Linked DNA regions of Homo sapiens: all the other regions are linked to region 1. The links are contacts of gene promoters, found by promoter capture Hi-C in blood cells and fetal thymus (Javierre and others, 2016). All regions are on one chromosome and are shown on one strand. Each heading gives the region's core, a stretch centred on a gene start or on the middle of the fragment in contact. The rest is flanking DNA. Distances are from core to core; before and after follow the strand shown. Region 1 holds the start of UTP14C (UTP14C small subunit processome component). Region 2 overlaps VPS36 (vacuolar protein sorting 36 homolog). Region 3 overlaps CKAP2 (cytoskeleton associated protein 2).

Evidence for each region. The method cuts DNA at HindIII sites, captures the fragments that hold promoters and counts their contacts. A CHiCAGO score of 5 or more calls a contact.
Region 2: a fragment that was not itself captured here is called in contact with the fragment with the promoter of UTP14C in region 1 in 1 of 17 cell types (neutrophils); the score reaches 5.7 in neutrophils.
Region 3: a contact is called between a fragment that was not itself captured here and the fragment with the promoter of UTP14C in region 1, in 1 of 17 cell types (neutrophils). The highest score is 6.9, in neutrophils.

The regions. Positions count from the first base shown.
Region 1 is chr13:52,022,768-52,026,176 of GRCh38, reverse strand. UTP14C (UTP14C small subunit processome component) reads right to left here and starts at 1,486. Exons shown (of 2, transcript NM_021645.6): 1 at 1,240-1,486. It overlaps ALG11 (ALG11 alpha-1,2-mannosyltransferase), which reads right to left. Exons shown (of 4, transcript NM_001004127.3): 3 at 1,240-2,171. The HindIII fragment of the contact is 12,744 bases long and covers 1-3,409 here.
Region 2 is chr13:52,431,185-52,434,826 of GRCh38, reverse strand. It overlaps VPS36 (vacuolar protein sorting 36 homolog), which reads left to right. Exons shown (of 14, transcript NM_016075.4): 5 at 1-34; 6 at 1,079-1,165. Among named protein-coding and RNA genes, the nearest start is that of VPS36, 18 kb to the left of the region's middle. The HindIII fragment of the contact is 7,600 bases long and covers 1-3,642 here.
Region 3 is chr13:52,473,753-52,477,449 of GRCh38, reverse strand. CKAP2 (cytoskeleton associated protein 2) reads right to left here. Exons shown (of 9, transcript NM_018204.5): 8 at 3,366-3,621; 9 at 823-2,555. The coding sequence ends at 2,309. Among named protein-coding and RNA genes, the nearest start is that of CKAP2, 20 kb to the right of the region's middle. The HindIII fragment of the contact is 2,816 bases long and covers 835-3,650 here.

The sequences.
Region 1 (3,409 bases), core at 237-2,736:
GCCCGCACAAGTCTGTGTTAGGTTTCTCTTTGGCGCTTTCACATCACCCTGCACTTCCTTAGCATAGCACCTGGCACACGGCACAGCACGGCACGGCACTTGCCTGTGTAGCCTGTTGGTACCACCAGAGGGTGGGAAGCCTCTGACAGGCCAAGCAGCTCCTGTCTCCACCACATCCCTAGCATCCACCCAAGCGCTCAGCAGAGTGAATGCTTAGTAAGTTTCTATGGAAGGAAGCACAGGAGGTCAGATCCCATGCAACAGGTTGGGTCAACAAGTTCTTGCTTAATGTCTGGGCCTAGCACTACACTACTAACTAGGAGTAAAAAGAGTATAAGAGAAATTGAAGTCTTAGTTTAGGAAATGTCACTTTTATGTTATCCTCATTTCCCCTAACAACTAACAGTGTGAGGCACAAAGCGCTTGAGAAATATATGTGGACCCAAATTAAACACAAAGCAGTACTTGATTTTATAGCAAAATGTGTGCTTAACAGGTCAGAATAGAGATAGCAGTTTGTGCCAGAATAAACAAGAAAGGCTAAAGTGCAAGGAGATTTAAGTTGAAGACTTATGATGCAATCTGGCACAAAGAGGAGAGCCATTCCAATGGTGAGGGTAGAATCAATAAAAGACTAAAAGAGTTACTGTGAGAAGCCCCTATGCAAACAGTGGTTCTCAACTTTTGATGCATAACAGAATCACTTAAGCAGCATTATCAAAATACATCTACCTGGGCCTTGTCCAGAGATTCTCATTTGGCCATTCTGTAGGATTAGGGTAGGGCCCAGGAATCTGTACCAGTAAGTATGTAGTGGGGTTAGATGGAGAGAGAAAATGTTGCTGTTAAGAGCAGGGGCTATCTGGGTTAGAATCCGGGCTCTACCACTTACTGTGTAACTGAACTCGAGCAATTTCTAAACCTTCCTGTGCCTGAGTTTCTTTATTTATAAAATGGGAATAACAATAACACCTATCAAACGGGTTTAGAAAGGCTTAAATTAGATAATACATGTAAAAATCTCAACACAGTGGCCCACACACAGGAATTGGTCAATAAATACTAGCTGCTATTATTAACTACTATCTTACAAGGTCTCAAGTGAGGAAAGCACATTTGGTGGATGAGGGCAAGAGAATTAGGGCATGATGCAGATTTCCAGAGTATTATCATTTTATCAAAAGAACTTAAAATGTGTATCTCATGGCACCAAACAAGTTGTTTAAAGGCCAAACTCACCAATCCCAAAATGCTCGTTCCACATGGTATGCAGACCAATTGTTGCTTCAGACAAATAATTCTTTAATTCATCAAATGGAATGTTTATTTTAAATTCCACATATTCTTGAACTCCTAAATCCTCAGACAGCCTTCTCAGTTGGTTTACCCTAAGTTCATCATCTTTGTTACGACAACCTCCAATGAGGACAAGTTTAAGCGAAGGAGGTGACTCAACCATCTTCTTATTCAGCAATTTAGCAAAGGCTCTGATCTGCAATGGATGATTCTTTTCCGGCCTAAACTGGCCAACAGAAACCAGCAAATGTCCTGGGGTCATCTTTTTCTCATGTAAGGGAATGTCCAGAAATGTCTGCACATCACAAGGTGGATAAACAATGTTAGTGCAATTCCCAACTTTCCATAGTGAGAGAATATGGTTTAGTGTCCAAGAAGAATTGACCATGACTACATCACTGCAAGAACCAACAAGTCCATAAATAAAAGCAAATAAATAGTAGTAGATGAGCTTTACTTTGCTGAGAAAAGGATTCCTGGTAATGAAGGCTGCATTATTAAATCCAATATTTTGATTCTTCACTACAGAGAGCATGTCGGTGCTGATAGTAGGATAATGAACATAGCTTCCAACTTGGCAACCCCCTATATACTTAAACAGAGGAAGCGTAAAAGCGTATCCCATTGAATCAATGTAAACATCAGGAACACACTGCATTAGAGCTTCCCAGCCAAGAAAAATGGATCCTAGACTTTGGCCCAGCAGTGTGAAGTGAGGATACAGTGAATCTTCCACAAGATAGCGTTTCCTTAAAAAAACAAACTGCACTGGGTGAATTAATCTGATGTTAAATCTTCTGAAAGCACCTTCTAGTATCTGTTGACCGTTGACATTAACATCGCCGGTATAAACAACATAAACTGCTTCAGGATACCTAAAATAGAATGTAATGGTTAAGAATATATTAAGTTACAAAAATTAGCCAGACACGGTGGCACGCACCTGTAATCCCAGCTACTCAGGAGGCTGAGGCAGGAGAATCGCTTGAACCCAGGAGGCGGAGGTTGCAGTGAGCCGTGATCATGCCACCGAACTCCAGCCTGGGTGACAGAGTGAGACTCCATCTCAAAAAAAAAAAAAAAAAAAAGCCTGCTACCTACCCTGAGAGACTGAGAGCCGAGACTGCATCACTGCACTCCTGCCTGGGCAACAAGTGTGAAACTCCGTCTCAAAAAAACAAAAACAAAAACAAAAAAAAGAATATATTAGGTTAAAATCAAGCAAAAAGTTGTAGATAACTATTTTCTTACAGTTATAAAGAAGATTTGATTTTTTTTTTTTTTTTGGAGACAGTTTCACTCTTGTTGCCCAGGCTGGAGTGCAATGGCGCCATCTTGGCTGACAATCTCTGCCTCCCGGGTTCAAGTGCTTCTCCCGCCTCAGCCTCCCGAGTAGCTGGAATTACAGACATGCACCACCACGCCCGGCTAATTTTGTATTTTTAGTAGAGTCAGGGTTTCTCCATGTTGGTCATACTAAAAATGATGTTTTCTACATTTTTTATTGAATTAGAAGTACAGTCCTTCAAATGAGACCATGACTTCTAGTTCTTTGCTATTTCCTCCACTGAGGGTTTCACACAGAACAGGCATCAACAGTAAGTGTTGATTTATGAATGAGATGGTCTAAAGAAATACTAAAAAGTTTTGACAGTGTTCTTAGTAAAAAAAATGGTAATAAAATACTATAAACAAGAATTAAGATTCAACAAACCTGTCTTCAGATAGGATCACAATACTAAAGCAATACTCAGGGTTTTTATCTGAAAAATGCAAGTCTTTAAAAGCTAGATCTTGTGCCTATATCACAATTAGATATAATTAGTATGAAAATATCTAAAAGTATATTCTTTAATGACTTGTAATACTTTGGTCTCCCTCTGTTTATAATTATTCTTTGAGTCATAAAACATTTATTGGCTGGGTGCAGTGGCTCACGCCTGTAATCCCAGCACTTTGGGAGGCCGAGGCGGGTGGATCACCTGAGGTCAGGAGTTCAAGACCAGCCTGACCAATATGTGTGGTGTGGTGGCACATGCCTGTAATCCCAGCTACTTGGGAGGCTGAGGCAGGAGAATTGCTTGAACCCAGTAGGCGGAGGTTGTGGTGAGCC
Region 2 (3,642 bases), core at 809-3,308, 410 kb before region 1:
TTCCCAGTCATTACAAACAAATAGAGGACCCCAGGTATTTTTAAAACTATTTGCTAATCCAGTATTTTCAACTCTGTACTTACATCTTCATTAAGAAAAAGACTCTGTGATTGTAGAACTTGCCCAAAACAAAATACTGCAATGGTATTCTTATAAAGAATTTATTTTCGGTAGGGCGCGGTGGCTCACGCCTGTAATCCCACTACTTTGGGAGGCCAAGGCGGGGTGGATCATGAGGTCAGGAGTTCAAGACCAGCCTGGCCAACATTGTGAAACCCTGTCTCTACTAAAAATACAAAAATTAGCCAGGCAGGTTGGTGCACGCCTGTAATCCCAGCTGCTCAGAAGGCTGAGGCAGGAGAGTCACCTGAACCCAGGAGGCGGAGGTTGCTGTGAGCCAAGATTGCACCATTGCACTTCAGCCTGGGCGACAGAGCAAGACTCCGTCTCAAAAAAAGAAAAAAAAAATTATTTTCACAGCACCTAATTTAGTGCTGTCTATACAGCAGACGCTTAGTAAACATAAATGACTGCTTACCAGCGTAATTCTTAGGGTGATAGAAGGTAGGGTTCACTCACTGCATTCTGTTCTTCATAATCAGTGTGACATTTGAGAGAATAGACAGTACAGCTGGGTAATGTTTTCCAGGCCTGTCTAAATTAATCACCAACACTAGACAGGTACTCAAATGTATGAAAGTAGCTTGAATAATAACTTAATTAAGAACCAAAATTTAAACTGTGATTTTTTTTGTACATTTGAGACCCTATTAAGTATCTGATACGTAATAGCTTGCCAAAGAAGGAAAATGATAGGAAATTTAACTTATCTCTAAAATGCAGAGTAAAATATGCCATTTATTGTATATTTGGTTTTTCCTGAATGATTTTAAGATCATTATGTACAGCAAGAAACAAACACATGTTTTGAAGGGAAGCTAAATGTCCGTGTATGCTGTTTTTCTTTGGTTCTTTGTAGGTCCTTTCCCGCCATTGAAAACACAATGTGGTTGGTTACAAAAGATTTTGTTTCCTTCCTATTTTGTATGTTTTATTTTCTACCTCTTTTTTTTTTCAGCCAGGAAGAATAAGGGCTGTAGGAATTGTAGGTATTGAAAGGAAACTGGAAGAAAAAAGAAAAGAAACTGACAAAAACATTTCTGAGGTAACTGTTAAATTCTGGCTCTCCATCTATTCCAGCCATTTGTGTCTATTCTTTTAGATACAGCTGTGCCTAATTCCCTTCTGTAATTTAGAATATATTTCATTTGCCTGAAGCTACATAGTCTCCTATTCTCTTTAACAGGTCTACCTCGGGCTGGCAAAATCTAACCAAAACCTTTTTCTAAAAGGAATAAAAAAGAAATGCAAATTTGTTTGCTGTTAGAAAACATCATAAAATGTTGTGTGTAGATTTTACAGTCTAGATGAAATTGATTGGCGGATACTCCTAATGAGTTCAGGGTTCTCTGTATAATTATTTTGGAAGTTGAAGTAACTTAGTTGAGAGAAAAATGCTATTCTGTGGCCAGTCTGTGGCCAGATACCACACCATTTTATGTTGATGACCACCCAGGGATCAGACCAGACATCAGTAAGAACGGCTCAAAGCAGCCCATCACTTCTACTGGGGGACAACCCTGAGCATGTACATTCCAGTGTTTCTGAGGCTTCATGATATATGAGGAAATTCAAGAGAAGGGGAAAGAACTCTAGCTAAAAAGACCAGTTATGCATTAGATTCTGTAATTAGTTAATACAGCTAAACATATCACTGGTTTTTCCATGTTTATATAAAAATGGTCTTGGTTTTTTATGAAATGATGCTTTAAAGTAAATCTTTGGTTTTTATAGTAATTCATAAGTAAAATTCTGTTGATGGTTGCTTTTCAGAGAATTTCAAAGATTTATGTCAATCAAGTAAAGTCTAAAACTACAAATAGTTATTTAAATACTTATTTTGGGCTCACTAATTGAAAATATAGATTACTGTTGGGGAACCAAGGGCATTTGACCTATTAAGTGCCCATAGTAGGTTTTTCTGGATATGTATCTGTGGTGAAGTTGTATATTTTCCTCAACCCTGTATTTTCCCCAAATTGGCAGCTGGATCCAGAATCTCTGTCACACTCATGTTCTGTCCGTTTGGCAAAACTAGAGGTGATGCTGTGTTCTTTCGTCAGAGGCACATCTTATCTCTGTCATGTTAGCAGCTGTTAATATTCAGTGCCTAGATCTATTAGTTCATTGGTGGTGGTAAATAGTGATAATTCTGTGTTTATTTTTCATTTATTAGTTGGAATACTTTTTAAAGAAATGTTTCCCTTATCTACTATTTGGTTGTCCAGTTCATATAGGAAAGGCAGGATAATTGCATTTTCCTTTATCATCAGGGTAATAAATTGTTTCCTTATTATCTTTTGACGATGACTAATTAGGTTTGTTTGTTTTTTTGTTTTGTTTTGTTTTGTTTTTTGAGACAGAGTCTTGCTCTGTCGCCCAGGCTGGAGTGCAGTGGCTCGATCCTGGCTCACTGCAAGCTCTGCCTCCCAGGTTCACGCCATTCTCCTGCCTCAGCCTCCCGAGTAGCTGGGCCTATAGGCGCCCGCCACCAAACCTGGCTAATTTTTTGTATTTTTAGTAGAGACGGGGTTTCACCATGTTAGACAGGATGGTCTTAATCTTCTGACCTCGTGATCCGCCGCCGCGGCCTCTCAAAGTGATGGGATTACAGGCATGTGCCACCGCGCCCAGCCAACTAATTAGGTTTTTTTTAACATGTCATTATGAATTCATGGAGTTTAGCATATTTGATGGATTTCAATCAGTTATAATTATTATCCTATTTGAAGCTCAAATTGTCCCATCTTTGGCCAGTGGGAGCTGCTTCAAGTTGGCCCTCTAAGTGCTTTTGTTGTGACTAGGTGAACTTTGCTAGCTTCTTCACTATCTGGTGTTGCAAAAGCTCCAGGACCATCTTGTACATTTCCTGCCTCAGATCCGGAATCAACCATTTATCTGAGAAACTCTGGTTTCTTTCTTTCTTTTTTTTTTTTTTTTTTTTGAGACAGAGTCTTACTCTGTCGCTTAGGCTGGAGTGCAGTGCCGCTATTTTGGCTCACTGCAACCTCTGCTTCCCGGATTCAAGCGATTCTCCTGCCTTAGCCTCCCGAGTAGCTGGGATTACAGGCGCGCACCACTGTGCCCAGCTAATTTTTGTATTTTTAGTAGAGACGGGGTTTCACCATGTTGGTCAGGCTGCTCTCGAACTCCTGACCTCGTGAACCGCCTGCCTCGGCCTCCCAAAGTGCTAGGATTACAGGCATGAGCCACCGCGCCCAGACCGCTCTGGTTTCTTTTAGTGGGAAATGATATTTCAGAACCACAATCTGCCTGCTAGTAATATTCATCAGTATTGGGTTGATCTTTGTTTCTAGGCTTTTTCAATGGACAGAGCTAGAATTTTGTTGTTGTTAATATAAAGTGCCTAACAAGAGCGTACTTATCTTTTCTATTCAAATTTAAGATGACACTACCAGATAATTACTAAAGCAGTTGAAAAAAAATTTTATGTGTTTTCCCCATTCTTTGTACATTTGAAAAATAGGTGCACTGTGTTTACGCTGTCTGAGCATACAGCCA
Region 3 (3,697 bases), core at 993-3,492, 450 kb before region 1:
ACAGACAATAAACAAACACATATGTAGAATTTATCAAAAAAGCTAATGTCACAATGCAAAGGGAAGTTGAATCTAGGAATAAACAAAATGTTGGCCACATAGCATTGGAAGCTCAGAGGATGGTGGGCCACTCATGGGGCCCTTTACTTACACTGTCTCATTTAGTGTTACCAACAGTCCTGTGGCCGGGTGCGGTGGCTCACGCCTGTAATCCCAGCACTTCGGGAGGCCGAGACGGACAAGAATGGTGGTTTAGAGTTCAGTCCTGTTTCCCCTTACCTGAGGTCCACTTGACAGTGGTTGGCATTTTTATCTGGTATGGATCTGGGTTTCCAAAAAATTCAGCGTCAAGATGTTCTTTCATTACTATAGGAAACGAAACATTTTTTTCCTTATTCCAGGATGTTCAATTTACTTTTTTGAGGCTAGCTAGGTAGCTACCTGGAATTTCCCTTGAAGAGACTCAAGATTTTTCCTTTATTACTATACACGGGAAGATCCAAGCGGGCCCTTAAGAGGGGTCCCTGTTATGTCTCTACTGGATGCTTATGCACGGTATCACATCATTTAGCTTGGAACAAACCTAGGGGAGAGATAACATAGCTGTCCTTAAGCACCAGAAAAGGGGTTAGACCTCTGGTTGAATGTTAGAACTAGGAATATTTAGAGACAGATTTTCCCCTCAGGTAAAGGAGGAAAAAAAACACTCTTAAAAACTTGTCCAAACATAAAAGTTGTATCTTGAGTTCTCTAACAGAGGCATTTCAAACTCTGCTATACAGACAAATGAATTATATGGTACAGATATTAAAAAGCTGAGAGTGTATCAAAGCTTAAATTTTATTTCAAAATGGCATATTTTGGGTCAAAGTATGAAAAAACAAGGGCATAGTTATGTTTTTGTTAAAGTGAAAAAAATTAGGTAAAGTTTATGTAAGTAGACTGATGACTTTTGAAAATATATCATTAAGCATGTACTTAAGTGTCAAAAACCTCAAGTCAAATCTTACAATGTATTTCAAAAGCAAAGCTAAAATTCATTCACTGTGGTTAAACTGCATTTCATAAAATATCTGTTGAAATAAACTTCATTAAAACATAATTACACAGATATTTTAATTGTATATATATCAGGTACACGGAATAAAAGTCCTACTCTCTAGAACATGAGAAGTCAATAAATAGAAAAGATATACAAAGTGGAATGAACATAAAAATGACTAAGCATGTGATCTTCACATTCATACAGTTTTTCAACTAATCTTTTACAATTAAAAAGTCATTTATTTGAAACTGTAGAGTTGATATATGCCATATTAGTTTGGAACCTTACAAAACAACTTTAGTGGTGTTATTTATGTGTGGAGAGAAAACTGTGTATGTAACTATCATGTTTCAAGGGACATGACTTAACAGTGAAGTTTTTTATGTTATAGGGAAGAAAACAAGTATTAGTATCAGTTATCTTAGAAATGCTATCTAAACTAGAATGACATTTGTTCAGTATGATATGTTCTTTCCCTAACTCCATTCTAATTGCTTAAAAACTATCAAGTGAAGTTACAAAAGTTAAACCACTAAATGTGGCATCTTTTCTTACACAAAGTATCTTCTCTTAGAAATGCGGTATTTAATTAAGTAAACCTTCTTGGTGACCCCAGTTATAATCAAAAGAGGCCACGAAACTACAGACTACTGACGAAAAGTGTCAGTGCAGACACTTTCCATCAATCAACAGGCAGTCCAAGGGACGCAAGAGAACACAAGTCTGGGTAACATGAATTTGGTAAGAAAGCAGGCTAAACCTCCTGTGTCTTAGTATTCGAAGTGAGTCATTCTATAGAATTTTTGACTAATCTGAGAAAGGCCAAAAAAAAGAAAAAAGTATTCTGTTTAAAGGCAGGGAGGTACATCATAACTTTTAAAAACATGTCAAGGCAAACATACATTTTACCTAGAATACCTCATTTTCTAATTATGCATCATTACTGTACTTATATTTAGTAAAGTGAACAGGGTAGTATTATAACCTGTTTATATTCAAGGAACATAGTAAACTAGCTGACAAAATTTACCTTTCTTAAAGAAAAAACTCAGTTGGTTGAAACTGACAAGGTAGGATTAGCTTTCCAATGTAGAGGACAACTCTTGCCATAACATGAATGTTAGTAAAGGAGCTCACTGCCGTGAATGCTTAGGATACATAGGTACATGGCCAACTCCAGACCTAAGAGCAATATAAAGCTACTCAAAACAAAACACCCCACAAATAATAAAAACCCCATTCCCTAACAGAGCTTTATTTCTCTTATGTTGTATCAGCCTCATAGTACACCCGGCACAGTGCTGCATTAGGGCGGCATACAAAAGCATCAGTTTCTCTTCCCAACTCCGTTAGCTGTTCCAATGAAGACACACAAGGATAATGATCTTTTAACATATCTGGCAATTTAGAAGTTTTCTCTTGAAGACGTCGAGAACGTCTCACTGGTGTTAAAAACTTCAGCTCTTTAAATGCGGAATTTGTTCCATCAAACTGCACCTTTTTTTTCACACTGAAAATTAAAACAATATTCCAGAGTTCAAAAACATGTTAACATTTTTACTCTGTACTTTCATGATATGTACCATACTATATAGCTTGTATGTTATAAGCAGGTAAAAGCATTTAATTGTCTTTTAGAGAGGTACTATAAGCTCACCGAAGTGAGAAACTTATCCTTTTCTCAATTTGTCATTACAACTTGTATACAGTAGATACCTGAGTATCTGTAGAACTGGCTAATTCCTGAAAGCCAAAACCTACTGTTATTAATAACACACAGATTAAAGTAAATTCAAATAAAAGTTTTCTTTTTCAAAATGGCAATAGTTAGGGAAAGTAAATACAGTATTTAAGAGGTGAAATGTTCTAATGACATTCTATTTGTTTAAAAACTTTTCTGTTTTCTTTTTTGTTTTGAGACAGGGTCTCGCTCTGTCATCCAGGCTGGAGGACAGTGGCATGATCTTGGCTCACTGCAACCTCTGCCTCCTGGGCTCAAGTGATCCTCTCACCTCAGCCTCCCAGGTAGCTGGGACTACAGGCACACAGCACCTTGCCCAGCCAAAATTTTTTTTATTTTTTGTAGAGATGGGGTTTTGCCATGTTGCCCAGGATAGTCTTGAACTCCTGGGCTCAAGTGATCTGTCTGCTTCGGCCTCCCAAAGTGCTGAAATTACAGGCGTGAGCCACCATGCCCGTACTGAAATTTCTATATTAATAAATGGTAGCTGTAATCTGAAGCTATCTCAAAGATTTTTAAATGCCGTTATTTATTATCTCCAAGCATGAAAACAAATCATGGTACATTTTAAAAGTTTACCTTTGCAAGTATGGCGTAGTAGACACATTATATTTAATTAAGCAACTTGTCCTCGTTTCTGTATTGGGGGTTTTAACATCATGGGTTGGATCTTTTGTTTTGTTGTCTTGCTCTTTTTCACAATCTTGAAATAGCAAATTTCTATGAAGTTTACTCTCCATTTCCAGTTTTTCTGGATCTACATCAACACCTGTATCTTCAATACTGACTTCTTTGACTTCTTCCTTGCTTGCACAAGACTTCTCCATATTTTCTCCTATAGAAAATACATTTATAGATTAAGCTTTTGGCTGAATTTTAAGAACAAAATCAGAAGACATTAAAGTTGTTCC